Regions from separate parts of the Homo sapiens genome. Here all the other regions are linked to region 1. Evidence: promoter capture Hi-C in 16 types of primary human blood cells and fetal thymus (Javierre and others, 2016). All regions are on one chromosome and are shown on one strand. The core of a region is centred on a gene start or on the middle of the fragment in contact, and the rest is flanking DNA. Distances in the headings are between cores, read along the strand shown. Region 1 holds the start of TIAM1-AS1 (TIAM1 antisense RNA 1). Region 2 has its middle 30 kb from the start of KRTAP19-8. Region 3 has its middle 49 kb from the start of KRTAP19-8. Region 4 has its middle 68 kb from the start of KRTAP19-8. Region 5 overlaps TIAM1 (TIAM Rac1 associated GEF 1). Region 6 overlaps TIAM1 (TIAM Rac1 associated GEF 1). Region 7 overlaps TIAM1 (TIAM Rac1 associated GEF 1).

The links. Contacts are between HindIII fragments. The CHiCAGO score rates a contact against its expected background, and 5 or more counts as called.
Region 2: a fragment that was not itself captured here is called in contact with the fragment with the promoter of TIAM1-AS1 in region 1 in 2 of 17 cell types (monocytes and non-activated CD4 T cells); the score reaches 7.4 in monocytes.
Region 3: a contact is called between a fragment that was not itself captured here and the fragment with the promoter of TIAM1-AS1 in region 1, in 9 of 17 cell types (non-activated CD4 T cells, naive CD4 T cells, activated CD4 T cells and 6 more). The highest score is 13.6, in non-activated CD4 T cells.
Region 4: a contact is called between a fragment that was not itself captured here and the fragment with the promoter of TIAM1-AS1 in region 1, in 11 of 17 cell types (non-activated CD4 T cells, activated CD4 T cells, naive CD4 T cells and 8 more). The highest score is 21.0, in non-activated CD4 T cells.
Region 5: a fragment that was not itself captured here is called in contact with the fragment with the promoter of TIAM1-AS1 in region 1 in 14 of 17 cell types (fetal thymus, activated CD4 T cells, naive CD4 T cells and 11 more); the score reaches 24.0 in fetal thymus.
Region 6: a contact is called between a fragment that was not itself captured here and the fragment with the promoter of TIAM1-AS1 in region 1, in 15 of 17 cell types (activated CD4 T cells, naive CD4 T cells, non-activated CD4 T cells and 12 more). The highest score is 28.1, in activated CD4 T cells.
Region 7: a contact is called between a fragment that was not itself captured here and the fragment with the promoter of TIAM1-AS1 in region 1, in 13 of 17 cell types (activated CD4 T cells, naive CD8 T cells, naive CD4 T cells and 10 more). The highest score is 26.8, in activated CD4 T cells.

The regions. Positions count from the first base shown.
Region 1 is chr21:31,557,086-31,561,321 of GRCh38, forward strand. TIAM1-AS1 (TIAM1 antisense RNA 1) reads left to right here and starts at 2,148. Exons shown (of 2, transcript NR_171013.1): 1 at 2,148-2,510; 2 at 2,932-3,402. It also overlaps a transcript of TIAM1 not described here. RefSeq lists enhancers at 148-961, 1,775-2,587 and a silencer at 1,867-2,496. The HindIII fragment of the contact is 6,855 bases long and covers 1-4,008 here.
Region 2 is chr21:31,066,813-31,071,048 of GRCh38, forward strand. No RefSeq gene overlaps it. Among named protein-coding and RNA genes, the nearest start is that of KRTAP19-8, 30 kb to the left of the region's middle. The HindIII fragment of the contact is 2,613 bases long and covers 479-3,091 here.
Region 3 is chr21:31,085,754-31,089,989 of GRCh38, forward strand. No RefSeq gene overlaps it. Among named protein-coding and RNA genes, the nearest start is that of KRTAP19-8, 49 kb to the left of the region's middle. The HindIII fragment of the contact is 6,028 bases long and covers 1-4,236 here.
Region 4 is chr21:31,104,266-31,108,501 of GRCh38, forward strand. No RefSeq gene overlaps it. Among named protein-coding and RNA genes, the nearest start is that of KRTAP19-8, 68 kb to the left of the region's middle. The HindIII fragment of the contact is 8,257 bases long and covers 1-4,236 here.
Region 5 is chr21:31,175,015-31,179,250 of GRCh38, forward strand. The region is part of intron 15 of TIAM1 (TIAM Rac1 associated GEF 1); the gene reads right to left. Among named protein-coding and RNA genes, the nearest start is that of KRTAP19-8, 140 kb to the left of the region's middle. RefSeq lists a silencer at 1,018-1,312. The HindIII fragment of the contact is 6,195 bases long and covers 1-4,236 here.
Region 6 is chr21:31,228,632-31,232,867 of GRCh38, forward strand. All of the region lies in intron 6 of TIAM1 (TIAM Rac1 associated GEF 1), which reads right to left. Among named protein-coding and RNA genes, the nearest start is that of TIAM1, 110 kb to the right of the region's middle. The HindIII fragment of the contact is 2,215 bases long and covers 861-3,075 here.
Region 7 is chr21:31,256,061-31,260,296 of GRCh38, forward strand. The region is part of intron 4 of TIAM1 (TIAM Rac1 associated GEF 1); the gene reads right to left. All of the region lies in intron 1 of LOC105372777 (a long non-coding RNA gene), which reads left to right. Among named protein-coding and RNA genes, the nearest start is that of TIAM1, 86 kb to the right of the region's middle. The HindIII fragment of the contact is 1,002 bases long and covers 1,363-2,364 here.

The DNA.
Region 1 (4,236 bases), core at 898-3,397:
TCCAAACCCAGGTCTGGGTCCCAGCAGAATCTTGAAGAAGAAAGAAGAAACAACTAAAACCTAATGGAAATTCAAACACATTTTTAAAAGGGCTGCAAGCGATTAGATAAATCTAATTAAACCTAAGGCCAAGTAAAACAAGTCCTGTTTGAAGCTGAGAACAGCAGTCCTTCATGCCTTTTATAATAAAAAGAAATTGGGGCTGGGGGAGTGAAGAACGCAGAAAAGGAAAGCGACAAGGGGCCATCCTCTATTACAGATTTCCTCTAACACAGAATCAACAGGACTCTAATATTTCATACGTGGCTGTCACTGTGCTTTGAGGTTAATCTATATGGTCGTTTAAGCCCCGCCCCCCTAGAGGTTATTCCTTATCCCCACTTTACAGATGCGCAAACTGAGACACAGGAAGATAGAATAGCTCGGCCGGGATCACCCAGCTTGTGAGTGACACCGAGCAGGTACTGGAACCCGGGTTTGTTTGACCTCAGCGCACAGGCTCTAAACCTCTGCTCCAACTCAAAGTATGCGCCAAGTCAGCGTGCATGGGTAACCCGATCCGGACGGCTCTGACTCGGGATGCGGCACAGCTGCCCTGCGGGGCCGCGCGGGTGTCACCGAGGCGGGCACAGACTGCACAGTGTCCCCAAGGGCTCGCGCACGTCCTTCAAGACCTGCCAGCGCGCGGGAAAAGGCAGGCTCCGAGTCAACCAGGGCTGACCCGGGGGCAAGACCAGGAGACGCGACGACTGGAACCGGGTGAGTGTGGCCGAGTCGGCGCCCCGAGGGCCGCCAGCCTGGACCCCAGGCTGGGACACGGGCGCCCCCGGGTGCAGGGGACCTAGAGGCGCCGTGCGCGGCGGGGGCTGGGCGCGAAGGCGCCGAGACGGCATCTTTCCCCTGCAGCATCCCGCCCCGCGGCCGGGGGGAGGGGGCGTCACCTGACAGCGCGCAACAACTTCTCCAGGTTTCGAGGGGGCAAGCGGCAGCCGCCGGGGCTGGGGGGCGCACGGCGCGCTGCTCTCGCCCAATGGCGAGGTCTGTAAACAAAAGCGGGCCCCACGCGGGTCCCCAGCCGGGTGGCGAGGGGCGCGGCGCAGCAGCATCGCAGCGGCAGAGCTGGTGAGAGGGCGAGGCGGGGACGGGATAGGGCGCGGGGACCCAGGGCACAGTCCCCGGGACCCGACCGCCCGGATGAGGCATTGTCTGCGCACCCGCAGGATTCCGCTTTTAATGCCCCCCTCCGGGGGTTCGTCGCGGGTCCCCAGCTCCGTGCGCCGGCCCCCGGGCTTTCCGCCCGGTGAGCCCGGCCCCGAGGGCGGCACGGATCGCCAAGGTGAGCGCCCAGGACGCGTCGCCGAAAAGCCAGGCCCGGAGGTGCCTAAGTCAGGGACCGAGACGCAAACATAGACACAAGGATGCACAAGCACGCCCTCCCCGAAGTTGACAAAAATCAGCCGATAAAATACAAAGTGCCGCGGCCGCCGCAGGTCAGCGCTGACCTCCTGCTGCCGAGAGGACCGAATGCCGACGTCCGGACGCTGTCATTTCCATCCAGCGAAGGCACCTGGGCTGCACGGTCTCGTCTCCCTCCTTCGCGCGAGGGATGCCTCCTCCTGCCTCTCCTCCCCGCATCTCCCCACCTCCCAAGTGTGTGAACACGAAAACAATACGTGGAAAGCCCGATCGGGGGGAGCTAGGACCCGCCGGGAGCCCCAGTGTGCGGGAGACGGGGGTCAGAACGTGCCCGGCACGGGCACCGAGGCTCCGGGCATCCTCGCCGCCGTCTCCCGGGGCGGCTCCGGCCGGACGCCCGCGCACCCCAGGCCCGCGGTACTCACCCGCGACGGTCGTCCGGGATCTCCGCGACGGGGCCGGGCACGATGCGGGGCAGCCGTGCCCCTGGGGCTGCGGGCGCCAAGGCGTCCGCGGAGCTGCAGAGCTGCGCGCCCGACGGCGGCGGCGCTGCTCTGCCGGCCGCGCTCGAACCCGCTCGTGGTCTGCCAATCGGAGCTGTCAGGGCCCCTCCGCCTGCGGCCTCGGGGGCCGGGCCGCGGGAGCCCGTGGGAAACCGAGCTCCGATTGGGCCGCCTGACAATCGCTCCGCCTCCGGCCAGCCAATCCGAGGCGGTGGATGCAGGAGCGGGGCGTTCGGAGTTGGGCTGTAGAGCGACTATGGGCGCACGCCGGGTATCCGCGCCGCAGCCAGGCTCGGAGCGCGCGGCTGGAGGGGCGCGGGCGGCGCGCGCTCCAGAGATGCCTTCCTGCGAGGCTCCGTCAGCGCGGCCCGGGGAGATCGCCCGCAGGCAGCGGAGGCGCGGCGGGCCGGGGGACGACCAGGGAGCCCCTAACAAAGCAGCTTTGGGAGGGCCGGAGGCCTCTGCCTCCCTCGGCGATAGGTCCGCGAAGCTGCCTGTCATCTCGCATAGGTGGAGGTGGCCAATGGCGTGCACAGACGGAGCTCTAGTTGGCGCGCGCGCGCGGCTCGGCATCGGTGGGATTGGTCGGAGGTAAAGGATTTTCCTGCCACCTAAGGCGGAGAGGAAGGGGGATCGAAACGGGGGAGGCGAAGAGTCAAAAAATGTTGTGCCTGGGACAAGTGGTCTGGCGCGGGAGGCGTGTGCCTGGCTCTAGGGGGAGACAGGAACTTTTTTACGAGAGAAAAAAATCCTAACGCAATCCCTTCCCGTGGATGCTAGAGGATGTTAGACCCTGAGCAGCCTCCAGGTAGGGCATGGTGGCCTTCACCAGAGTCCAGGACTCCCAGGGTTCACTTACCGTGCCCAGCAAGCGAACTTGGAATAACAGCGTGGGGTTTGGGCCTTACGCTTACCTGCTGGGCAGAGTAAGTGACTCGGGCAGGGTTCACGCAGACCTCCTGGGCTCCTCTGTAAAATCCGGAAACTACAGTTGCAGTTTACCTCTCGCAAGGTTGTGGAGAACGCGGAAACGGAGACGCTGGCGGTACAGCCTCGAGCGAAACCTTTCCCTACACGAGGCCGGAGCTTCCTCCTCTCCTGAAGAGCTCTAGACTTCCCCATTTACAACAAAGGCTGGGATGTATGTTCCTTACACCTTGATTCCATACACACGTGTTCGCCCCGGGAGCTGGGAAGGTCTGCGCTCCCGGGGTGATCTTGTTGAAAACAAAAAGAATTGCCCACGCTGTGGAAGATAAACCTAAACCGGAAAATTGAAAGTCATCCCTGATTCCTCCTTCTTCTTAACCCTCTCCCATCCATTTTTGTTAACCTCCCAAACCCATTCCTCCCATCCTGTCTCACCTGGACCTCAGTAAAGGGCTCCCATCGTCCTTCTGTCCCAGGCCTTGCCCCCTGAAATCTGTTCTCCACTTTGCAGAATGATCCTTCTAAGCAGAAAAATCTCATTTTGCGCTCCCAACTCTGGGTCTCTTTTCTTTCCCCAGAACACGTCAACCCCCAGCCCCTCCCTTCACTTCACTAATTCCTACCCTTCTTCAGATCCCAGCTTGGCCGCCAAGGCATCCATGCAGTAGGCATTGCTGAACTACTGCTCTTACAGACCCCGGGAAGCCTCCTGTACCCTGTCAAGGTTAGATGCCACATTTCCACTTCCAGTGCTTCCACCCCCTGTGCTCCCCTCACAGGCCTGTATGACACGGGGCTGAAGTTGCCTGTTGCACTGCAGCCTTCCATGGAAGCCGGAATCTTATCTATCTTCCCTGCTGGATCCCAGTCCTAGCACAGTGTTTGGCACATTTGGGGCACTGAAAAAACATGGAATCCATGAATTATAGAGGAGCTATAATTATAGGCAAGAGCTTTAAGGATTTGAAGTGCTTCTAAAACATCAGTTTGAGAAGAATGGGTAGCATGGTAGCTCTTGAACGGATGCGTCCACCAGGTTCCATGATCAGTATTACAGGGAGGTTTTTGAGTCAAGTTTGAGAGATTTTCCAAAGACACCCCTTCCAAAACCAGCCTCGTTTCAGCCAACAGCTTGGAATGGAGAATAATTCCCTTGAGAAGCTTTTCATCCCAGGACAAAGAGCCATTTCTTTACCTGTTACAAGCCACCATCTAGGGGAAATACATATATTTGAAAATGAGTAGAGGGTTTTTCCCTAAGGAAGTTTAGAAGTACATCTGGCCATCCTTAAAAGAACAGACCCTGGAGTGAGGCTGCCTAATTTCAGGCCCGGTTCCTTTCTAGCTGTTACCTAGGGCAAGTTACTTCAGGCCTCCGTGCCTCGGT
Region 2 (4,236 bases), core at 535-3,034, 490 kb before region 1:
CAGCGTGGCACATGTATACATATGTAACAAACCTGCACGTTGTGCACATGTACCCTAGAACTTAAAGTATAATTAAAAAAAAAAAGGGTAATAACATCACCCAGAGATGGATTAGATGACACATGAGACTTTGTATCCTTTTGGGGCAAGAAGGTTAGCAGGTGTTAGGTTGTTTGGGGGGTGGTTGCATCAAGTTAGAAAGTTAAATATATGTTAAAAAGGTATATATGGTGCCAAGTTAACAATGGGTTGACTACGTAGTTTTATGCATGCCAACTGGTCTACTAGCACTATGATTCCCAGAATTATCTTCTGGGAAACCTGAGCAAGATTTGGAAGGCAGAAGTGAACGGCAGCCATTGACTCTTCAAAGACCATCATTGTTAGTGCAACAAGGGATAGAAGCAGAAGTGCTGGCAGATTCCAGCCCTCATTCATGTTTTCCCTCCTCTGTATCTAGCTCTTCTTCCTGACTGCAAGCTTTGCTGACTGTGATAGGTAATTTTATGTGTCAACTCAGAGGGCATTTTGAGATGAAATTAACATTTAAATCAGTGAACTATTAGGTAAAGTAGATTGCCTTCCACAATGTGGGTGGGCCTCATCCAATACGTTAAAGGCCTGAACTGAACAAAAAGATCAGCCTCCCTGAGCAAGAGGAACTTCTCCAACAGACTGCCTTCAGCCTTTATCTGCACCATCAGCTCTCCAGGATCTCAGACTTGCCAGTCCCCCTGCAGATTTTAGACTTCCCAGCCGTCGTAATCACGTGAGCCAATTCTATAGATAGAAAGATGGGTGGATGGATGGATAGATAGATGATAAACAGATGATAGACAGATGGAGATAGACAGATAGATAGATGATATACAGATAGATGATATACGGATAGATGGGTAGATAGATAGGCAGGCAGGCAGATAGATCCTACTGGTTCTTTCTCTCTGGAGAGCCTGAACACACGGGCCAACAATCTTTCCAGGCCCATAACCAGATGCAAAGGCAACAACAGGGTTCCCAGGCTCCTTCCCAGTTTCATTCCTCAGCTGCTGCCCCTGCCTTCCCACATTCCTTTGTGAACTCTGCCCTTGTCCACTTGCACTAGCATTTCAAAAGGCACGGTTATAGACATTTCTCTGATCCTCCAACCCCTCCTTGTAAACTATACTTCTCCGGCCCCTTCCATAATGGTATAAGGCTTTATTACTATGATAAATCCCTTATTCTATAAAACTCGTAATGGTTCTGCTGTCTTTATTGTACCATGACTGATACAATATATTACCATTTTGTGCAAAAGAAATTGTGCTAACATTCTCAGCATAGGCAGTAAAGCACTCACACTGTAAAATGGTTCTCATTTCTTGTCCCATTCATCCGCTCATTCATTCACTGAGGAAACATTTGCTGAATACCTACCATCGGCCAGGTGCTGTTCTAAGACAGCAGACTTAAAATACACAAAGGGCTGTGATGTGAATATGATCAGCATCTAGAACTATAACCACTGAAGGGAAATTGCCAGGAGGAGATTTCAGTTCAATATTAAGAACTTTCTGACAATTAAAACTGCCTCAAAGGAATGGCCTCTCTGTTCTAAGGTAGTAAAGGCCTAGTACTACAGAAATTACCTAGCAACTTACTTACTTACTTCTGACACATCAGAAGCCCTGATGCATCAGTTAGCAGAGTTTGAATATTCACCAGGTTCAATTTTATATTTATATTTGATGATTCCAATATATTATATGCTATCTGTGAGATTTTGAGACTCTATATTCTGTCTGTATTCTAAGGTGACTATGAGATATAGTAGGATTATATAGTAGTCTCAGAATAATACCAAAAAGGGAAGAGAACAGGTGTCTTTTGTTTACCATATGCCAGGCAATATTCATTAGTTGTTTTATAATCCTCCCAAAACTCTAAAAAGTAAGTGTTATTATCCCCTCTCTATGGATAAAGACACTGAAATTCAGCAAGTTATAGTGACTTATCCAAACATCTCAGCCACCAATCAGAAGAAACTGAAAACTTTCTGACCCCAAACCTATGTTTTTTCTTATGCTGTATCACCCTCAAGTTTCAGCATTTTTATGTAAGAATTAGTATGGGTCGGGCACAGTGGCTCACGCCTGTAATCCCAGCACTTTGGAAGTCCCAGTCAGGTGGATCACCTGAGGTCAGGAGTTCAAGACCAGCCTGACCAACACGGAGAAACCCCATCTCTATTAAAAATACAAAATTAGCCAAGCATGGTGGCGCATCCCTGTAATCCCAGCTACTCGGGAGGCGGAGGTTGCGGTGAGCCGAGATCGTGCCATTGCTCTCCAGCCTGGGCAACAAGAGTGAAACTCTGTCTCAAAAAAAAAAAAAAAAGAATATGATTACTATTCATAATTATTGTAAGATTATTAACTTTCACATAATAAAGCATAATTCCCCATTTTTCAGGTCAAATCTTAATGCATGCATATTTCAATATATCTTAGAATATATATTGTATTAAATATATTAAGACAATAACACTACATCATTTGTCAAATGTTTTGTATGTTCCAACCACTCCAAAGTGCTTTACATTCTCAATTCATCCTCACAGGAGTCCTGCAAATGGAGATATTTTTTAGCCTTATCCTACAGATAAGAACAATGAAAATCAAAGAGGCTAAGACATGTTTCTAAAGTTGATCAGCAACTAGAAAGTGGCAAGGCTGGAATTCCAATTTTGTTCTGGTTGACTTTGAAGCTCCTTTTCCATGTTCTGGGTACCCTGGCTTACTCTCTCCCTTGGGCTGGGGCGGGGATGGTAGATTTTTCTTACCATATTTTGCAAGATGACTTGCTCTTTCTCCTATATCTTCCAAGATTATTTGCTGCCTTCTCCCTCTGGTTGTCTCCTTAAACAGCTTCTTGTTTATTTCTATAACAGTTTCTACTTTCAGCCCCATTTAAAATAAAAATTAGGAAGACTCACCCCATCAAGCCATTTCAATATGTGGAATTGGTTGAGCAAATAAAAAAAATTTGAGAATACTGAAGTTGCCATGGATGACATATTACTACCATTCGTTGTAATTTAGGTGTTGTAAGCTTTTTTTGTTTTTTCCACTTTGCTCAATCAAGCACTCCTAACTTGATGGTCTTGCTTCTAGCTATGATTCAAATCCACGGAGGATTTCATTTTGACTTTAAACTATAGCTGATTTGCTGTAGGAGATGCTTAAGACAACCAGAGATATAAATTGCCTCATCTACCGCCAAGGGAAAAATGATTGTATCTTGTAATATGAACCTCAGGATAGGGACGAGCTTGTTGGCTATATACTCCTGTTACCAACATCAGCTACAAAGAAGAAAAATAGAATTGAGGAGAAGATCATTTGTTTTCAGCTCATTACAGGGAAAGGAAAACTACGTTAGTATATATGATTCATACATAAAGAGGAACATATACATAAACACACAGTGGGAGAGAAGCAAGCTAGCATTTATTAAGTCTTAATATATACCAAGAGCTTCAGGTATCTTAAACAACCCTAAGAGATTTGGTTATTTCCATATTATGAAGGAAAGAATTGCAAAAACAAAAAAATCTGAGTTTATAAACCCCTCCTAAAGTCCAGATTTTCTGTACCATATTCTATTGACTTTATGTACAATCTTACATAAATTCCTCTTAGAAATTCTGAGATCGTTGTATATCACTTACCTTTAATATTTCAGAATGAAAATAAAGTCATGAATCTCTAAACGGGACTTCAGATTCATCTGCAGCCTCTACCAATTGTTCCCTCTTCTTTAGTTTTTCTTACCCTGTTTACAAGTGCCCCTATGTTTAAGTCTTGACAAAAATTGTTTGGAAGCTTTGATGTTTATATTGAAAGTGCATAGAAAAAAAATTTGTTTCTCCCACTTAGAAAGCATTAGAAAACTTCTAGCTACCTGGAGATGACATCTATTGTTATGAGGAGCCCAAAGCCCATCTCACTTGATTTGGGGGCAACATCTTGCCCTCCTGTGGAAAATCACCCTCCTCCTCGCTGGTGGTGTTGATGGAGTTGTCATTTAGGATGCCTCCCCTTTCCTGATTCAGGGGCAATAAACTAGGTCGGATTCTCCCTGTCCCCAACAAGGATTCAAATATCGTGCAGCAAACTTCAAAGACAGAAAACATTTGTAGCAGATTTATCCCAAAAGTGATGCTCACAGACACTGTCCATTATTCTCCTCACT
Region 3 (4,236 bases), core at 549-3,048, 470 kb before region 1:
TCAAATATTTTTCTAAATGCTCTCCAGATTTGACAATGGATTTTTCTAAACTCCCACATTGCCCTCTCTGGGGCCAGGACAGGCTAAACTGTGAAAATGAATGGTTGAGGAAAAGAATACTGAACTCTGCCATGTGACTGTTCAACTGTTAATCTACACCCAAAAATGAAAGTCCATTTCCATCCTTAAAAATAGTAAAGGGGAAGGAAAAGTATCTTTTCCATTTGGTCCATTTTCTTGGAAAGTTTGTTATTAAAGGAAACGGTGGCCAGGCGCGGTGGCTCACGCCTGTAATCCCAGCACTTTGGGAGGCCGAAACAGGCGGATCACCTGAGGTCAGGAGTTCGGGACCACCCTGACCAATGTGGCAAACCCCAGTCTCTACTAAAAATACAAAAATTAACCAGCCGTGGTGGTGGGTGCCTGTGCTCCCAACTACTCGGGAGACTGAGGCAGAAGAATGGCTTGAATCCAGGAGGTGGAGGTTGCAGTGAGCCAAGATCGCGCCATTGCACTCCAGCCTGGGCGGCAGAGCAAGACTCCGTCTCAAAAAGATAAATAAATAAAATAAAGGAAACAGTTATTTGTCTGGGAAGAGGTGGATAAATGTTCAAAGAATGTGAAGAAGAGAAACATCCCCTTCCTGTTATCACATCTGAGCTGACTTATTGAAATAATAACAGGAGAAGGAAATAAAAAAAAGGGAAAGGAAAGGAGGAAAGGCCAGAGAGGAGGGAGGAAGAGAGAGAGAGAGAGAGAGAGAGAGAGAGAGAGAGAGAGAGAGAGAGAGAGAGAATGAAAATAAGAACGATAATTTTGGGACCCAGCAATATGCTTGAGTTTGCGTTTGACTCTAAAAACATTCATAGTGAAACAGCGGCCTCCTCTGGTCACAGGCAGGAAATTCAAGAACTTCTGTTTCTTACCAAAGTCAATTTTAAACTATGAAAATGGATGGATTATTACATTGGAAAAGAACTGTATTCAACATTTACCAAATCTGCCGTTGTGCACTAAAACCGTATAAACTAGAAAACTCAACCCAAAATCAGTGTTCTGAGGGTGATGAGTTCCAGCAAAAATCCTATGAGAAATTAGAGTTGGATAGGATCTTGCTCACATTTAATCTATTCTCCCTCACAGTGATCTTCCCTAGTTAAATTAAGTAAAAGTTGAAAATTATCCTCCAGGGTGAAACAATTTTCCCAAAATGGTCACTACTGGTCTGCTTGTACTCCATTCGGAGCCAGATAGACCTAGATTTGAATGCTGGATTCATAGAGCTGCATAACTTTGGACCAGGACTTGCCCTGTTTTTCCATCTGTAAAATAGGCCCCATAGCACCTCTCAGGGCTTCTCTGCAGATGCAGTGAAAGCACACACAAAGCACTAAGCATGTAGGAAAAATTTTGACAACGTCAGGGCCCCTTCCTGTTGCTACCACTGAGTCCAATATAGCTCGTAGCTCACTGAATTGTATGTCTAATGTTTGTGTATTTTTTTTTGTTTTACTCATTTATAAAAGCAAAGATCGTCTTTATAACTTTTATTGCGGTAAAACGTGATATTTGGTAAGATATAATTTGCCATTCTAACCATTTGTAAGTGTACATTTCAGTGGCATCAATTATATTCACAATATCGTCCAACCATCACCACTATCCATTTCCAAAACTTTTTCATCACTCCAAATAGAAACTTTGTATCCGTTAAGAAATAATTCCTCCTCCCCTCCTCCTCCTCTCATTGCTGGTAACTTCTAATCTACTTTCTATCTCTATGAATTTGCCTGTTTTATATATTTCATGTAACTAGGATTATGCAATATTTGTCCTTTTGTGTCTGGTTTATATCACTTACCATAATATTTTTGAGATTCATTCATGTTGTAGTGCGTCCGGAATTGGTGGCTTCTTCGTCTCACTGACTTCAAGAATGAAGCAGCAGACCCCCGCGGTGAGTGTTACAGTTCTTAAAGATGGTGTGTCTGGAGTTTGTTCCTTCTGGTGGTTTCGTGGTCTCGCTGACTTCAGGAGCGAAGCTGCAGACCTTCACGGTGAGTGTTACAGCTCTTAAAGGCTGCACGTCTGGAGTTTCGTTCCTTCCGGTGGGTTCATGGTCTTGCTGGCCTCAGGAGTGAAGCTGCAGACCTTCGCGGTGAGTATTACAGCTCATAAAAGCGGCGCAGACCCAAAAAGTTAGCTGCAGCAAGATTTATTACAAACAGCAAAAGAACAAATCCTCCACAGCATGGAAAGGAACCTCAGCGGTTCGGGTGGCCTGCTTTTATTCCCTCATTTGGTCCCACCCACATCCTGCTGATTGGCCCATTTTACAGAGAGCTGATTGGTCCGTTCTACAGAGAGCTGTTCGGTCTGTTTTGACCGAGTGCTGATTGGTGCGCTTACAAATCTTTAACTAGACACAGAGTGCTGATTGGTGCGTTTACAATCCTTTAGCTAGACACAAAAGTTCCCCAAGTCCCCACCCGATTAGCCAGACACAGAGCAATGATTGGTGCGTTTACAAACCTTTAGCTAGACACAAGTGCTGATTGGTGCATTTACAATCCTTCAGCTAGACGGAAAAGTTCTCCAAGTCCCCACCCCGCCTACAAGCCCAGCCGGCTTCACCTCTCTCTGGCACTCCCATGGGTCTTTGCGGCACCTAGCCTGGGCACTCCCGCAGCCCGGACGGAGCTCGTTCCGGATCAAGCCCAGCGGACACCTGCCGGCCGCGCCAAGCGCAGAGCCCGCCGAGCCCGCGCCCACCTGGAACCGTGCCGGCCTGCGAGCGCCGTGCGCAGCCCCGGCTCCCGCCCGCGCCTCTTCCTCCACACCTCCCCGCCAGCAGAGGGAGCCGGCTCTGGCCTCGGCCAGCCCCAGAGAGGGGCCCCCACAGCGAAGCAGCGGGGTGAAGGGCTCTTGGAGCAGGGACAGAGCGGAGGCCAAGGCCGAGGAGGCGCCAAGAGCGAGCGAGGGCTGCTAGCAGTTGCCACCTCTCAGTAGCATGCATCAAAACTTTATTACATGGGGTGCAGTGGTTCACGCCTGTAATCCTAGCACTTTGGGAGGCCGAGGCGGGCGAATCACCTGAGGTCAGGAGTTCAAGACCAGCCTGGCCAGCATGGTGAAACCCCGTCTCTACCAAAAATACAAAAATCAGTCAGGTGTGGTGGGCCACACCTGTAATCCCAGGTACTTGGGAGGCTGAAACAGGAGAATCGCTGAACCTGGGAGGCAGAGGTTGCAGTGAGCTCCAGCCTGGGCGACAGAGCAAGACCCTGTCTCAGAAAAAAAAAAAAAAAACTTTATTCCTTTTTCTTGCTGAATAATACTTCCTTACATAGATATACAGTTTGTTTAGCCGTTCATCTGTTGACAGACACTGAGTAATTACCACCTTTTGGCTATTGTGAATAATAAGCATTGTTGCACAAGTAACTATTCAGGTCCCTGCTTTCGGTTCTTTTGTATGTATACCCAGAGCATACGGTACATTCCATGTTTCATTTTTTTTCATTTTTTTAATAGAGTCTCCCTATCTTGCACAAGCTGGTCTCCAACTCCTGGATTGAAGCAATCCTCTTCTCAGCCTCCCAAGTAGTTTGTATTACCGACATGAGCTACCACACCCAGCTATGCTTAATGTATTTGTGTGTGTGTATATATATATTTTTTTTTATTTATTTTTTTTTTTTGGAACCACCACCATAGTCTATTCCACATCAGGTGTACCATTTTACATTCCCACAAGCAAGCCACAAGGGTTCCAATTTCCCCACACCCTTGCCAACAGTTGCTGACGGGATTTTTCATTGTGCAAAACTGAAACTCTGTATCCATTAAACAACTTTGTTTTCCTTCCCCCTACCCTTGGCAACCACCTTTTCCTCACTCCAAACACAAACTTCCTACCCATTAAGCAGTAACTCCTCCTTTCCTCTCTCCCAGCTCCTGGTAACTTTCAATCTACTTTGTTTCTATGAGTTCGGCTACTTTAGATACCTCTTGTCAGTGGAATCATACAGTGTTTGTCTTTTTATGACTGGCTGGCTTCACTTAGCATAATTTCCTCAAGGTTCCTCCAAGTTGTCATATGTAACAGGGTTTTTTTTCTTTTTAAAAGCTGAATAATATGCCTTTGTATGTACATTGCATTTCCTTTATCCATTCTTCCATCAATGGACATTTGGGTTGCTTCTACCTCTTGGCTACTGTGAATAATTCTGCAAT
Region 4 (4,236 bases), core at 885-3,384, 450 kb before region 1:
GGCACCCCACTGCACTCCGCTGCAGCATTCTTTCTATCAAATAATACTTTCCTCTTCAAACCTATACTGCTGTTGGTATATTCTTTTACCCCCGTGTATTAGTCTGTTCTTATACTGTTAATAAAGACATACAGGAGACTGGGTAATTTATAAAAGGAAGAGGTTTAATTGACTCACAGTTCCACATGGCTGGGGAGGCCTCACAATCATGACACAAGGTGAATGAGGAGCAAAGTCACATCTTACTTGGCGGCAGGCAAGAGAGAGCATGTGCAGGGGAACTACGCTTTGTAAAACCATCAGAACTTGTGAGACTTATTTTCAATCATGAGGACAGCATGGGAAAAATGCACCCCCAAGATTCAATTATCTCCCAGAAGGTTCCTCCTATGACACATGGGCATTATTACAATTCAAGGTGAGATTTGGGTGGGGAGACAGAGCCAAACCATATCACCCCACAAGCCAACCACTCTCATTGCTGGGGCTCTGACACCTCACCCAGAGGCTGGAAAGTCCAAGATTGAGGAGCTAGCATCTGGCCAAGGCTTTCTTGCTGCATCATGCCATGGTGCGGAAAAAAGAGAGGGTGAGAGAAAGACAGAGAGAAAGAGGGAGAAAGAGTAAGAGATTGTGAGGATCCATGGCTGTTAGCTGCCTAAACATTCACTGAGAAATCACTGGCATGAGGCAGATTGAGGAACGGAAAAAGAGCATACAAATTTATGTAACATGTACACATAGGAGCCTTCAGAATGAAGACCCAAATTTCCAGTGAGTTACAGAAATTTATGTACCATTTTTATGTTACAGAAAGAATGGGGGCTTGGATTCTTGTAAAACAGGTTATGGGAGAGGGGAGAAGAGGAATTCTATTGAGCGGCAATAAGTGATTGCTAGGGAGGATGATTGGGTGGAGAACAGAGATGAAATTGTAAATAGTTTTCTTTGGAATTTAAATGGACTTGGAAACAGCCATTATACTTATAAAAGTTCTGCTCTGGTGTGGTCACATCTTAGTTTTCTTTTCTGCAACAGATAATGAGACAACAGGAAGAGAAAGAAAGAGTCATTATTCTCCTTGGTAGCTCTGTGTATTAGTCTGATTCGTCTGTTCTCAGGCTGCTAATAAAAGACATACCCAAGACTGGGTAATTTATAAAGGAAAGAGGTTTAATGGATTCACGGTTCCACATGGCTGGAGAGACCTCCCAATCATGGCAGAAGTGAAGGAAGAGAGCAGAGTCACGTCTAACATGGTGGCAGGCAAGAGGGCATGTGCAGGGGAACTGCCCTTCATAAACCATCAGATCTCATGAGACTTATTCACTATTGCAAGAACAGCATGGGAAAACCTGCACCCATGATTCAATTACCTCCCACAACACATGGGGATTATGGGAGCTATAATTCAAGATGAGATTTGGGTGGGGACACAGCCAACCTATATCAGTTTGTATCTTAGGCAGATAAAGGAACTTCAGTTTGTTTGGGAGAGCTCTTGGGGATAGGTGGTCAGAGACCTTGAGGCTTCTTCATTTCAGCATGGCAGAAATGCCATATTGTGAGGTATTGCTTTCTGAGCCCCAACAAGTTCAAACTTGTAAACTCCAACTAAGCCCCACCTCCAGAGTCTGTTGCATTGGGGATTAATTTTCCAACACATACTTTTTGGGGAACACATTCAAGTCATAGCAGTCACTAAGATTGTCTTAGTGTGTTGGTGAGTTCGGCCACACGTGAAGCATCTTTACCCATCTGCTGTGGTTTGAATGTGCCCCCTTCTCAAATTCATGTTGAAACTTATATTAGTCCATTTTCATACTGCTATGAAGAAATACCTGAGACTGGGTAATTTATAAAGAAAAAGAGGTTTCATGGACTCACAGTTCCACATGGCTGGAGAGGCCTCACAATCATGGTGGAAGGCTAAGGAAGAATAGAGGCACATCTTACACGGTGACAGGCAAGAAGGCATGTGCAGGGGAACTGCCCTATATAAAACCATCAGATCTCATGAGATTTATTCACTATTATCAGAACAGCACAGGAAAAACCCACCCTCCTGATACAATTACCTCCCACCAGGTCTCTCCCAAAACATGTAGGAATTATGGGAGCTACAATTCAAGATGAGATTTGGGTGGGAACACAGGCAAACCATATCATTCCACTCCTGGCCCTTCCCAAATCTCATGTCCTCACATTTCAAAACCAATTGTGCCTTCCCAGCAGTCGTCCAAAGTCTTAACTCATTACAGCATTAACTCAAAAGTCCACATTCCAAAGTCTCATCTGAGACAAGGCAAGTCCCTTCACTTAAGAGCCTGTAAAATCAAAAGCAAGTTAGTTACTTCCTAGATACAATGAAGGTACAGGCAATGGGTAAATATACCTGCTCCAAATGGGAGAAACTGCCCAAAACAAAGGGGTTACAGGCCCCATGAAGTCCAAAATCCAATAGGTCAGTCATTAAACCTTAAAGTTCCAAAATGATCCCTTTTGACTCCATTTCTCACATCCAGGTCATGCTGATGCAAGAGGTGGGCTCCCATGGCCTTGGACAGCTCCACCCCTGTGGCTTTGCAGGGTATAGCCCACCTCCCAGCTGCTTTCAAGGCCTGGCATTAAGTGTCTGCAGCTTTTCCAGGTACACGGTGCAAGCTGTCAGTTGATCTACCATTCTGGGGTCTGGAGGATGGTGGCCCCCTTTTCACAGTTTCACTAGGCAGTGCCCCAGTGGGGACTCTGTGTGGGGGCTCCCACCCCACATTTCTCTTCCACACTGCCCTAGCAGAGGTTCTCCATGAGGGCCCTGCCCCTGCCGGAAACTTCTGCCTGGACATCCAGGTATTTCCATACATCCTCTGAAATCTAGGCAGAAGTTCCCAAACCTCAATTCTTGACTTCTGTGCACCCGTAGGCTCAACACCACGTGGAAGCTGCCAAGGCTTGGGGTTTGCACCCTCTGAAGCCACAGTCTGAGCTGTTCCTTGGCCCCTTTTAGCTATGGCTAGACCAGCTAGGACAAAACAGGGCACCAAGTCCCTAGGCTGCACTCAGCAGGGGAGCCCTGGACCTGGCCCAGAAAACCATTTTTCCCTCCTAGGCCTCAGGCCTGTGATGGGTGGTACTGCTGTGAAGGTCTCTGACATGCTCTGGAGATATTTTCCCCATTGTTTTTTGGTGATTAACATTCGGCTCCTTGTTACTTATGCAAATTTCTGCAACAGGCTTGAATTTCTCCCTAGAAAATGCATTTTTCTTTTCTGTTGCCTCATTAGGCTGCAAATTTTCCAAATGTTTATGCTCTGCTTCCTCTTGAATGCTTTGCCACTTAGTAATTTCTTCCGCCAGATATCCTAAATCATCTCTCTCTAGTTCAAAGTTCCACAGATCTCTAGGGCTGTAGCAAAATGCTGCCAGTCTCTTTGCTAAAGTATAACAAGAGTCACCTTTGCTCCAGTTCTCAACAAGTTCCACATCTCCATCTGAAACCACCTCAGCCTAGACTTTATGGTCCATATCACTGTCAGCATTTTGGTCAAGGCCATTCAACAAGTTTCTAGGAAGTTCCAAACTTTCCCACATCTTTCTGTCTTCTGAGCCCTCCAAATCCCTAGGAAGTTCCAAACTTTCCCACATTTTTCTATTTTCTGAGCCCTCCAAACTGTTCCAACCTCTGCTTGTTACCCATTTCCTTTCTTACTCTTCCCCTCTGTATTGAGACTTCATCTCAAAAAAACAAAACAAAAAAACAGTGTGTATCACTTCTCCTTTTGCTCTCTTCCTCCTGCTCCAGCTGGCTTCCCCTTTGCCTTCCACCATGATTGTCCATGCTTCCTGTACAGCCTGTGAAACTGTGAGCCAATTAAGCCTCTTTTCTTTATAAATTACCCAATCTCACGTAGTTCTTTATAGCAATGTGAGAATGGACTAATACAATTAATAAAACATTTCAGAGTCATTTCAGAATCTAACCAATGACTTGGACTTTTCCAGCTTGAGATGCCAGCTTTCCTCTTGCCTCCCCAAGACAATTTTATTTTTGCCATGTCAAAATTTCTTAAACATAGTATCTACCAAGGTACAATAGGAACATTTCCTTGTAGAAAGCATGACCATTTCTTAACTTATAAAAACAAGCTCCATGGCAGAGAGGGATCCCCTCTGAGGCCCCACCACATGGCAGTGGCAGCCTGGGATCCCACTCCCGGGATTAGTGATATTGCTGGA
Region 5 (4,236 bases), core at 1,260-3,759, 380 kb before region 1:
TCTCTGCAGCCTCAACCTTCTGTGCTCAAGTGATCCTCCTGCTTCAGCTGCCTGAGTAGCTGGGACTACCGGTGCACACCACCACGCCTGGCTAATTTTTAAATTTTTAGTAGAGACAAGGTCTCACTATGTTGCCCAAGCTGGTCTCAAACTCCTGAGCTCAAGTAATCCTCCCGCCTCAGCCTCCCAAAGTGGTGGGATTACACGTGTGAGCCACAACGAACGCTTGGCCTCTGGCACTTTTATTGTAATCCTGTGGGCTACTCACTGAGGTAAACCAAGGCACCTGCTTCGCCCCAACTGGTCAAGTGGAATTCTAGGGACAATCACAGCACAGCTGTATAAACCACAAAAATAAAGTGAACGTGAACCCAAAGAGAGAGAGAAACAGGCGTTTGAAACTTCGGAAAGACACTAATGGTGTCACTTCAACTATGATTCTTATAATTTGCATAAAAGCTGAGGTTTTGCATAATTACTGTTACATAATTCCATTTATTTTTTCTTGGCTTTCTTCTTGATGTAAAAAGGAAAAACAAGGCCATAAATGGGGATTTGTGTTGGAATTCTCTCAATAAATGCTTTATAAAACTTTTTTTTTTGAGACGGAGTCTCCCTCTGTCGCCCAGGCTGGAATGCAATGGTACGATCTTGGCTCACAGCAACCTCTGCCTCCCAGGTTCAAGAGAGTCTCCTGCCTCAGCCTCCCAAGCAGCTGGGATTACAGGCGCCCGCCACCACGCCCAGCTAATTTTTGTATGTTTAGTAGAGACGGGGTTCCACCATGTCGGTCAGGCTGGTCTGGAACTCCTGACCTTAGGTGATCCACCTGCCTCGGCCTCCCAAAGTGCTGGGATGACAGGTGTGAGCCACTGCGCCCGGCCTATAAAACTTTTTTTTAAGAACTGTTTTACATCTAGATTTGCTTTGCTTTCCTATATTGATGTTCCCTGCAACATTTCCCTAAAAGGGTGATAGAGCTATACCTTTTAATAAATTAGGCCAGTAGTTCTCAACTGGGTAAGATTTGGCTGCCCAGTGGCCTTTTGGCAATGTCTGAAGATATGTTTGATGGGCACAACTTGGGGAGGTGGCGTACTATTGTCTCGTAGTGGCTTGCAGGGGTACTGCTAAACATCAACACACAGGACAGCTCCCCACAGCAAAGCATTACCTAGCCCAGATTGTTAATATTGCTAGATAAGATCAGTATTCAAAATAAATCACACAAGAACACAAGAGAGACTTTTTTGAAACCTCATACAAATACAGTTCTGCAACTTCCTATTCTAGCTTCCCCTTCACTGCTAAGATCTTTTTATAAAAACAGCCACTGAAGGAACTATCTTTTTGTCCTAGACATCCTTCCCTTTTTTTCCTACCAATATGTATGAAAACAAATGCTTAAAAAAAAAACCAAAACAGATGAAAGTAGCTCCAGTAAGACTGCAACCAGAACTCAGGGATGGCAAACAGCCAAGGATAGGAAACTGAGTCTTACAGAGAACACTCAGCATAGACTCTCCTTATGCAGATCCTGGCTTTCTAAGCCAACGTGGCAACCCATTCAGCAGGCTTCCCTCGTAAACCAAGGAACGGGAGAATGGAGAATGTACTACAGGACCACCTAACAAATTTTCATTACAAAAAAATCTCAATGAAGCAGATCACAAAATGTGATCAAGAAACTATAGAAGGTTTGCATGTCACCGTAAAATTCCAATTATCTTATGATTCCACCAAGACAAGAAAAAGGACAGGGAGCAGTAACCAGGAAGAGTTGGTGACCTAAGGCAGTGGCTCCCAACCAGGGCTGGACATTAGAAGCAACCACCGGAACAAATGCAGACCCAGACCCCATCCCACACTAGGTGACTCATGAGCTCTGAAAAAGGGCCCAGGAACCTCAGCATTCTAGACTACAGCATTCAGTTCTTTCTACTCGAGAAAGGAAAATATGAACAAGCTGTAATTCACAAACTTAGTTATCAGGTAATTCACCTGTTGCAGACTGAGGTGGCGTAGAAGGCAGGGAGAATACTGAAAAAGAGCAATCTCTGGTCATAGGCCAGGGAATCCTCATGTCCCCCATAAGAGAATGGCTTCAGGTACAAAACATTTATTGAGCGCTTACTGGGTAATATTCTAAATGCTTTACTTTTATGCCTCATTTGGTCCTCACAACAGCCCAATGAGATGACAGTGTGGCATTATCCCCATTTTGCAGGTGAGGACACTGAGGCACAGAGGGATTAAGCATGACCAGGTCAAGGTCATGAAGCTGATGAACATAGAAATGGACTGATTTCTGGCCAGGCATGGTGGCTCATGCCTATAATCCCTGCACTTTCGGAGGGTGAGGCAGGTGGATCACCTGAGGCCAGGAGTTCGAGACCAGCCTGGCCAACATGGTGAAACCCTGTCTCTACTAAAAATACAAAATTTAGCCGGGCGTGGTGGCGGATGCCTGTAATCCCGGCTATTTGGGAGGCTGAGGCAGGAGAATCACTTGAACCTGGGAGGCAGAGGTTGCAGTGAGCCAAGATCCTGCCACTGCACTCCAGGCTGGGTGACAGAGTGAGACTCTGTCCCCCCCACCAATGACTGAGTTCCAAAGAAATGGACTAAGTTCCAAATAACTTGGTTCCAGGCCCTAATCTTCGCCACTAGGCTGTGATGCTTCTACATAGAAGAAACAAACCTCTCTATGAGAAAGCAGTTCAGAAATAATCCAACTTTGAAAGCTAATCCCATACTCACTCAGGGTCCTTAAGGGAGGACCTGGCCAAGTCTGACCACTTGAGTTTGTGAGACTGTGGAGCTCTGCAGGACAAGCCTCCAGCAGCCAGGTAGCAGCCAGCACTCACGTGGACCCCAAGGTCCCTGAGACCCAGCAAGGCTCTCTGTCGAGGACACCAATCATCCACCTTAACTTACTCCCATCAAACCTCAAACCTGCCACTCAGGATGTTTCCTATTTTTGTTACTTCTAAATTTAGACTAAGGCTGTAGTCCATCCTGCCCGTTGTACAAAATTTTCTCGGTTGTTTTCTATTTTAACTGCAGTGGTCTGCTGATACTGCTTTATCTCTGCCCCATCACAGAGCAATCTTTCAGTTATTTTATCCTGTTTATTTGCCTCCACTTTTATCTTCCACTGTTAAGTGGGGACTAGGAAGCAGAAGCAATCAGAAGGCAGATAGGCAGAGACCCAGGTGGGGAAGTGAAATGCCTTCTCTCCACCAGCAGGTCCAATTGGGCTGCTACTTGACCAAGTATTCAGGAATTCTTTTTTTTTTTTTTTTTTTTTTTGAGACGGAGTCTCGCTATCGCCCAGGCTGGAGTGCAGTGGTGTGATCTCGGCTCACTGCAGGCTCTGCCCCCGGGGTTCACGCCATTCTCCTGCCTCAGTCTGCCGAGTAGCTGGGACTACAGGCACCCGCCACCTTGCCCAGCTAATTTTTTGTATTTTTAGTAGAGACGGGGTTTCACTGTGTTAGCCAGGATGGTCTCGATCTCCTGACCTCGTGATCTGCCTGCCTCGGCCTCCCGAAGTGCTGGGATTACAGGCGCGAGCCACTGAGCCCGGCCAGGAATTCTTCTGAAATTTACTAATTTTGAAGCCAGTTTAGAAACTTTACCAAAAACAAAAACAACAAAACAATACAGTGGCTTTACTTCCATGCTTTATTCCTGAGTCAGTCTGATTACCTAACTTGACAAAGCAGACTCTGTTCTGGAGGATTTTTCTTTTTTGATGGAGTTTCGCTCTTGTTGCCCAGACTGGAGTGCAATGGCACAATCTTGGCTCACCGCAACCTCTGCCTCCTGGGTTCAAGCGATTCTGCCGCCTCAGCCTCCCTAGTAGCTGGGATTACAGGCATGTGCCACCATGCCTGGCTAATTTTGTATTTTTAGTAGAGACGGGGTTTCTCCATGTTGGTCAGGCTGGTCTCGAACTCCCGACCTCAGGTGATCCGCCCACCCTGGCCTCCCAAAGTGCTGGGATTACAGGCGTGAGCCACCACACCCAGCCTGAAGGATTTTTGATGATTGTAAAACTACAAAATTTTAAGAAATAAAGCAATGTGGCCGCACACAGTGGCTCATTCCTGTAATCCCAGCTCTTTGGGAGGCCGAGGCGGGCAGATCACCCGATTTCGGGAGTTCGAGACCAGCCTAACCAACATGGTGAAACCCCATCTCTACTAAAAACACAAAAATTAGCCAGGCGAG
Region 6 (4,236 bases), core at 718-3,217, 330 kb before region 1:
TTAACACATATAAACTGGGCACACATCTTGTTGGGGAAGGAATCAGATGCACTGCAGTATATACTGTAGGATTCTATTTATATAAAGTATTGTATTAGTCCATTCTCATGCTGCTAACAAAGACATATCCAAGACTGGGTAATTTATAAAGGAAAGAAGTTTAATTGACTCACAGTTCAGCATGGCTGAGGAGGCCTCAGGAAACGTACAATCATGGCAGAAAGGGAAGCAAACACGTCCTTCTTCTCACGGTGGCAGCGAGGAGAAGTGCAGAACAAAGCAGGGGGGAAAGCCCCTTATAAAACCATCAGATCTAGTGAGAACTCACTCACTTTCACAAGAACAGTATGGAGGTAACCGCCCCCATGATTCAATTACCTTCCAATGGGTCCCTCCCACGACAAGTGGGGATTATGGGAACTACAATTCAAGATGAGATTTGGGTGGGGGCACAGCCAAACCATATCAAGTATCAACACAGATAAACTAATATACAGTATTAGAAGTTGAGAGGGCAGGTTTTTTTGGTGGGATGAGATGCAATGGGTAGAATCTGGTAAGAAGCACAGTAAGGTTTCTGGAGTGCTGGCCACCTTCTGTTTCTTCATCTGGGTGCTAGTTACATGGTGCTGGGTGCTGGTGTATGACAGGGGTGTGTTCAGTTTGTTAAACACCATCAAAATGTGCCTTTTCTGTGTATACGTTAAACTATCATAGAAAGTTTCAAAGAACATCCTTCCAAGGTATATTATCCTAATATTTGAGTATAATTTTTCTATAACTATGCTAAAAATATGATACCTCATATTCCGGTTTTCATTAAAAACTGTCCTTACAAAACTACAAAGGAAGTTCCAAAAAGCTTCACCCTTCTCCACCATTTATTTCTTTGTCCTCCCAAGTGCCTGGTAGTACCTGATAAAAAGCTGGTTCCTTGACCCGAAACATGCTTTCCATTTTGTTTGTATCGCTCAGTGGAAATGAGGAGCTTTTAGATTTTAGGGGAGTTCGTGTCTTCACCCCCCCTTTTTTTTTTGAGATGGAATCTTTCTCTGTTGCCCAGGCTGGAGTGCAGTAGCAGTGCAATCTCGGCTCACTGCAACCTCCGCCTCCCAAGTTCAAGAGATTCTCCTGCCTCAGCCTCCCGAGCAGTTGGAATTACAGGCACCTGCCACCATGCCCAGCTAATTTTTGTACTTTTAGTAGAGATGAGGTTTCTCCATGTTGGCCAGGCTGGTCTCGAACTCCTGACCTCAGGTGATCCACCCGCCTCGGCCTCCCAAACTGCTGGGATTACAAGCGTGAGCTACCGCGCCCGGCCATCTTCACCCATTTTTAAAGGATAATGTGTGGGCATCCAGATGCAATCCCTGCAGAGGCGCACGCAGCACTAAGGAGAGGCTATGGTTCCTGCACAAACACCTGGCAGGTGGAAGCTCAGGGGCGGTCCACATCCATATCTTCAAGGCAAACCTCTCTCATCTCTGCCTCAGTTAGAACCTCCCAGCCCCTACCCTCACCCCCTAACTCACAGAGTAAGAAAAGGAAATACCTACAACCCTGACATAATACCTGAGTAATGGATAGAAAGATCTGAAATTTCTGACAGCAAGCTCGGCTGAATATATGTTATGAACTTAAGAATTTAAATAAAAATATTTATCCAGAAGGGACTCAGATGACCATTTTTCACAGATGGAGGAAAAAAGCCCAGAAAAATTAGGAAGAACACAGTCATTTATTATAAATCCCAATCTCCACCAACCCTGTTCTTAAAAAAAAAAAAAGTTTTGGTTCTGTTTTTTCCTTGTTTAATATGACATACTGATCCTGACCCCCAGCTCTTGTTAATTGCTCTGAAAGCCAGGCTGCAGAGTCACAAGCATTACCCATTCGATAATTATTATTTTTTAGACAGAATCTCACTCTGTTGCCCAGGCTGGAGTGCCTGGGCATGATCTCAGCTCACTGCCACCTCCGCCTCCTGGGTTCAAGTGGTTCTCCTGCCTCAGCCTCCCTAGTCCCTAGCTGGGACTACAGGCTACTAGGGAGCCACACACCCAGCTAGTTTTTTGTATTTTTAGTAGAGACAGGGTTTCACCATGTTGGCCAGTCTGGTCTTGAACTCCTGACCTCAAGTGATCCGCCAGCCTCAGCCTCCCAAAGTGCTGGGATTACAGGCGTACACCACCAAGCCCAGGTAATTTTTGTATTTTTAGTAGAGAGGGGTTTCACCGTGTTGGCCAGGGTGGTCCTAAACTCCCGACCTCAGATGATCACCCTGCCTCGGCCTCCCAAAGTGCTGGGATTACAGGCATGACCATTCAATATTTTGAGCTCTTCTCATTCTAGGAATATGGGAGAATAGAACTTTCTGGCCCCCTCTGAAGCCAGGCATGGCCATGGCACTTGGCTTTGGCCAGTAAAATGTGAGTAGAAGTGACATCACTGCTCAACAAAAGCCTGATTCGCCCCATTCTTGCCCCGTTGCCACGGTCACAGAAGCACTGTGTCAAGATAGAGCTTCTGTCTGCCTGGATCCATAAGAGTCTAGGATGAGTACGGCTCTGGAGCCAGCCTCGATCATGCCAGGAAGGAGAAAGCATGTTAAGCCGCTGAGATTTAAGTGCTCCTTTCTTCAGCCTAATTCTATCCATCCTGACTGATCTACCAGCAAAGTAAGAATTCCACTGCAAAACAGGGGATGCCTCAAACATAACGGAGTCTGTGTAGTGCACTTGGAACCCCAAGAAAGACCATAATCTGATATGTTCTGTGGAACTGCAGCCTTTTGCTCTCCTTATTTAATGAAAGTGGGTCTTCTTTCCCCTGTGAGGACCCCAGCCCAATTCAGCCAATAGCAACACAATCCATTCTGATGTCAGAGAGTTCACGTTTGTCTTCCACGTAAGAAGGAAAAACGAAGGAAGCTGACCAAAGTTAAACACCCTTTGAATGGTATATATTTAATTTCGGCAAAGCAGCTATCCTGGAACTTATAAAGAAAGACAGTGGTTGCTAGGGGCCGGAGTGAAGGGGATATGGAATGTTGTTATGTAATGGGGACCGCATTTAAGCTTTGCATGATGAAAAAGAGTTATGGGCCAGGCGGAATGGTTCATGCCTGTAGTCCCAGCACTTTGGGAGGCCAAGGTGGGCGAATCACTTCAGGCCAGGAGTTCGAGACCAGCCTGAGCATGGTGAAACCCCGTCTCTACTAACAATACAAAAATTAGCTGGGCATGGTGGCACATGCCTGTAGTCCTAGCTACTCGGGAGGCTGAGGCACAAAATCGCTTGAACCCGGGAGGCGGAGGTTGTAGTGAGCTGAGATTATGCCACAGTACTCTACCCTGGGCAACAGAGAGAAACTCCATCTCACAAAAAAAAAAAGTTCTGGCGATGAATAATGGTGATAGTTGCACAACAGGGTAAATGTACTTAACGTCACTCAACTGTCCACTTAAAAATGCCTAGATGGTAAATTTTATGTGTGGTGTACCTCAATTTAAAAGAAAAAATAATTATAAAATAAAAAAAGCATAACAATCCCCAAAACCTAGAGAAGCATATATAGAAATGTGTGATGACAGCTGCATGAAACATTTAGCCATCAGCCCTTTTAACTATTAAGTATGCCTCAGCCCCCCAAACTTTTTAAAAACCTGTCAATGGCTGAAGGCAGTTCCATTAGAGAGAACTTTTGCTCCCACTGTCTTGTCTAAATAAAGCAACAGTCCCTACCATTCTCTATCATGAAGCCAAATCAATTTCTCAGAAGGACAATTCAATAAATGAGCTTTTCTGCAGTTTGTCCCTTTGCAGTGGCACACAGGGAGCTATGTGTCCACAAGAGGAGACGAACTCTCCACTGACTGCTTTCAAAAGCTAGTTGGGTGGAGAAAAAGTCTTGCAACATTTCATGACCATTTACTGGCTTAACACCTCAACTGCTCACAGTGGACTCCTGACCTGACACAATGTTGTTCCTCAAGGTCTCTCCAGGATTTAAATTCTGACATGCTAGAAAAAGCCATCCGAAGCCACTAACCTTGCCTCCCCTTCTTGAACCGGGCAAGGTTAGTTAGGGACATCAGATTCATGATGGGTCCCTTCGTCAGAATTCAGAGGCCAAGAAGGCAGGAAGGAGAGACCACCCAATGGTGCCCTCTCAACTTGTTAACCACAAATCACCTTCCATTAAACAAACAGCAGCAGACAGGTAAAGAGAGAGGG
Region 7 (4,236 bases), core at 614-3,113, 300 kb before region 1:
TAAATGAGCTCCCAGGCTAAAATGAGGGAGGCAAGAGGCAAATTCAAAGCCTGTTTTCACTGCCTTGAAAACTGGAGGGTCACGCAGCATGAATGTAGACTAATGACACATTGTGGTAAGGCTCCAGTTGTTTTGACAGGAGACTTCAAATACTACCAAAGGGAGAGGTTTTCTGTGCTAATGATGTGCGAACACAATTTTGAAAATGCAATTAGCCAGAAAGTGCAAAGGCTCTGGGACAATTCCAGGACCAGTAGAATCAATTGGCCACTTGTAGTTAAGTTATAAGTCGAATGCAATTAGATACTGTTTCCTTTGTCACTTGAATTTCCCTGATAGATCCAGCTTGAATACACCTGTGTTAAGATGCTAACTACAATGCAGAATTCACTGAATTCCAGGGGGTAAAGAAATGTGGACCTACAGAAACCCTGAATTAGAACTGTTTCTGGCTTGTTAAATTCTAACATGTCCTTCCTCTGATTTATCATCTTCTTCCTAACCCCAAAATATTAAGTACCCCTCACTACACACACACACACACACACACACACACACACACACACACGTATATTATCTTTGGCTCTCAGTATTATCTCCTTGGTATTCTCAGTATACTCTCCTTTGATAATCTCAGTACAGCAAGTATCAATTCTAGGTAAATGACTCTGAACCAATCCATGCCTCAATTTCTTGATATGTATAATGGGGAGAGCAACACATCTACTTTGTAAGACACTGTATAAGACACTGTGAGATTGAGTTAACCCAGGAAAAGTGTCTTAAACTGAGCCCAGCACATAGTACCTGCTCAAAAATGTTAACTATAATTACGGTCATCTCTACCTTCAGCCCTACTTACATCTTGGCCCAAGGAGAGAAGGCATTGCCTGAACTCAGTTGCTAACTTCCTGCACCAACATGGAAGAAAGGTCTCTGAGAAACCTGGGAAAAACACAGGCATACCAAGGCTGGTGCCAGCCTAATACTAATTAGGCTTGTTAATTGTTCTCACGTTCACAAAACAGCACACTAAACTAGGAAAATGGTGACGTTCTCTACATTATAAATTAGTAACTACTGGTCACTATTATGAAATACTAATAATTGCCATCCCTGATTTGCCAGAATAGGAAATCAACTCTATTTTCCCTCCCCTTCCTTTCTTAGGGCAAAATCTCTATGCCTTTCTTTTTATGTTTCCAACAACCCATTCCTTTTCTTCTAACGATTTCCAATGGGAGTGACTCACAATTTCAGCTACAAGCATTGGAACCAAAATTCCTACTGTTACTAAAAAGGGATTCCAAAGTAAGTTGGCAAAAGCTTGAAATGTTCCTTCAGGTAACTCCTGATTGGAGAAGCTTTATGTCTAAGTTAAATGAATCATTGCCTCTCCTTTCATCTGCTTTTCTATGTATGTGCTTATACCTTACAGTCATCCCTCCCCTCCCTCCTCACTATCCATAATATATCAGAGACTCAGTTTTTTCTCTTCCCCTCCGAGTGCCACATCACTGGTTGAGCAATAAGCTCTCTCTTCTAACCCATCTTCCTTCCATCAATCCATCCGGCACACCACTGCCAGGTAAATGTTCCAGGAGCAATGTGGAGGACTCCTCAGACTGCTGTTCAAGACCCTCCCCCGGTGTCCCGCGTTAAAACTTGAGCTTCGATGTCCCCACCCACTAGTGAAATTGAAGAACTCATTCCAGGGCATACTCCCAACCTTTCTCACTCCCAAGAATACTCACGTCCCCCCTTTTACTACAACCAGAAGGCTTCTCTGTGCTTCCTCCAACTACCATGCCAACCTCTCCACAGCATCTCCTCTCCCACCTCCACCCCACCCCAGCCACCCTGAGCTCCTCCTCCTTGCTCGAATGTGCTGGGCACCCTCCCACATTGCAACTCAGGAGCCAGCTCCCTCCTCCCCTCCTCTCCTTCCAAGTCCCTATCCAGGTCTGCCCTCACCCTGACCACCCTGTCAGAAATTGCCCCCCACATCCCCCACACCCCATCTTCCTCAACATGCCCTGTCTTTCTTCCACAGCACATCGCTTCCTTATTATGCTAACTGTTTTCTGCCACACACACACCCACTTCACCCCAACGAGCTCCACGAGCTTGTGGATCTTTCCTTGTTGACGCATCCCAAGTGCCAAGAATAAAGCCTGGCATGGGGAAGGCACTTCAAAAATAATTGCTGAATGAACTCACTGCTGCTCATTTTCCACCACAATCTCAAAACAAGGAAAACAGTTTCTCATGGAATGCACTGCAGCTGGAGTTAAAGGTTTTGTCATTTCTAAACTCAGCTCATGCTCAACTAAAGTTGAGGTGACAAATGAGTCCTAGCTATAAAGCTTACATTTATAGGCTTTAAGCAGCCTAGTTGGATTATGTCTTGTGTGGATGCAATCGGAGTTCACTTAAATTTTTGTTCTTTAACTCTTTTAAAAAATTGAGGAAGTAAGAAAGATATATTAGGCTGGACGCAGTGGCTCATGCCTGTAATCCCAGCACTTTGGGAGGCCAAGGCGGGTGGATCACGAAGTCAAGAGATCTAGACCATCCTGGCCAACACAGTGAAACCCCGTCTCTACTAAAAATACAAATATTAATGCACCTGTAGTCCCAGCTACTCCGGAGGCTGAGGCAGGAGAATCACTTGAACCCGGGAGGCGGAGGTTGCAGTGAGCTGAGATTGCACCACTGCACTCCAGCCTGGCGACAGAGTGAGACTCCGTCTCAAAAAAAAAAAAAAAACCAGAAAGATATATTGAACTATCTTATGGCCCAAGCTAGATACTCGGTCAACTGGTGGTCCAAAGCCAACTGGGCCCAAATGACAATGTGACAGGCTGGTCAGGTGTTTCCTAAGTTCTCCATTGGGATCCATGGAGACCCTGTCAGGCCTTTAGGGCAGGCTGGCTTTATGGCCACATCCAACAGTCACACATTTACAGTTATGCTGTAAAAAAACAATGATTACACATTGTTATGACACAATTTGAGTCAAGGGGCTCAACTTTCCTCTATTCTTATACTAGGAATGTGATCTTCTTTTTTTTTTTCCTTTTTCTTTTTTGAGACAGGGTCTCATTCTGTCATGCAGGCTGGTGGAATACAGTGACATGATCATAGCTTGCTGCAGCCTCAACCTCCCAGGCTGAAGCATCCTCTCACCTCAGCCCACTACGAAACTGAGACTACAGGCACACACCACCACACCTGGCTAATTTTTTTGAAATTTGGTAGAGACAAGGTCTCACTATGTTGGCCGGGCTGGTCTTGAACTCCTGAGCTCAAGCGATCCTCCCACCTCGGCCTCCCAAAATGCTGGGATTATAGGCATGAGCCAATGCACCCGACCTAAGAATGTGATCCTCAAAAGCTGAACTGGTGGGCATAGTGGTCCATGCCTGTAGTCCCAGCTACCCAAGAGGCTGAGGCAGGAGGATCACTTGAGCCCAGGAGTTCAAGGCCGCAGTGCACTATGATAATATCTGTAAATAGCCACTGCACTCCAGCCTGGGAAACACAGCAAGACCTGTCTAAAAAAATAAAATAATAATAATAATAATAATAATAATCCTGAATGTTCCCAACCTGTATTAGCATAAATGACCAGCTCTCAAAGTATGGACTAGGGTTCCCTAAAATACTTCCAGGGAGTCAGTGAGGCTCCTCCTTTTCCAACTACCCTGTGCAAGTCCAGGTTCTGCTCATAGGGTCCAACCAAACAGTATATTGCAAGAGAGTGAATGCAAAAGTAGGTATGAGACGCTAGTGTCTTCTGTTAAGCTAGAAATCATAGAGATCTGCAAAAATGGAAAACAATGCCTCTGTCCCACATCTTTTATTTTAGAGAATAAAATATTGTATTACTTTAGAGATAGGGTTCTCATTCTGTCACCCAGGCTGGAGTGCAGTGGTGTGATCTAGCTCATGAAAGCCTCAAATTCCTAGGTTGAAGCCATCTTCCCATCTCAGTCTTGCAAGTAGCTGGGACAACAGGTACTCACCATGGCCAGCTAATTTTTCCTTTTTTTTTTTTTTTAGAGGCGAGGTCTCACTATGTTTCCTAGGCTGGTCAAAAAATATATTTTTAATATAAATAAATAAATAAATATTTTTATATAAATATATATTAATAAAATATATATATACACATATATACTTTTTTTTTTTTGAGACGGAGTCTCACTCTGTCGCCCAGGCTGGAATGCAGTG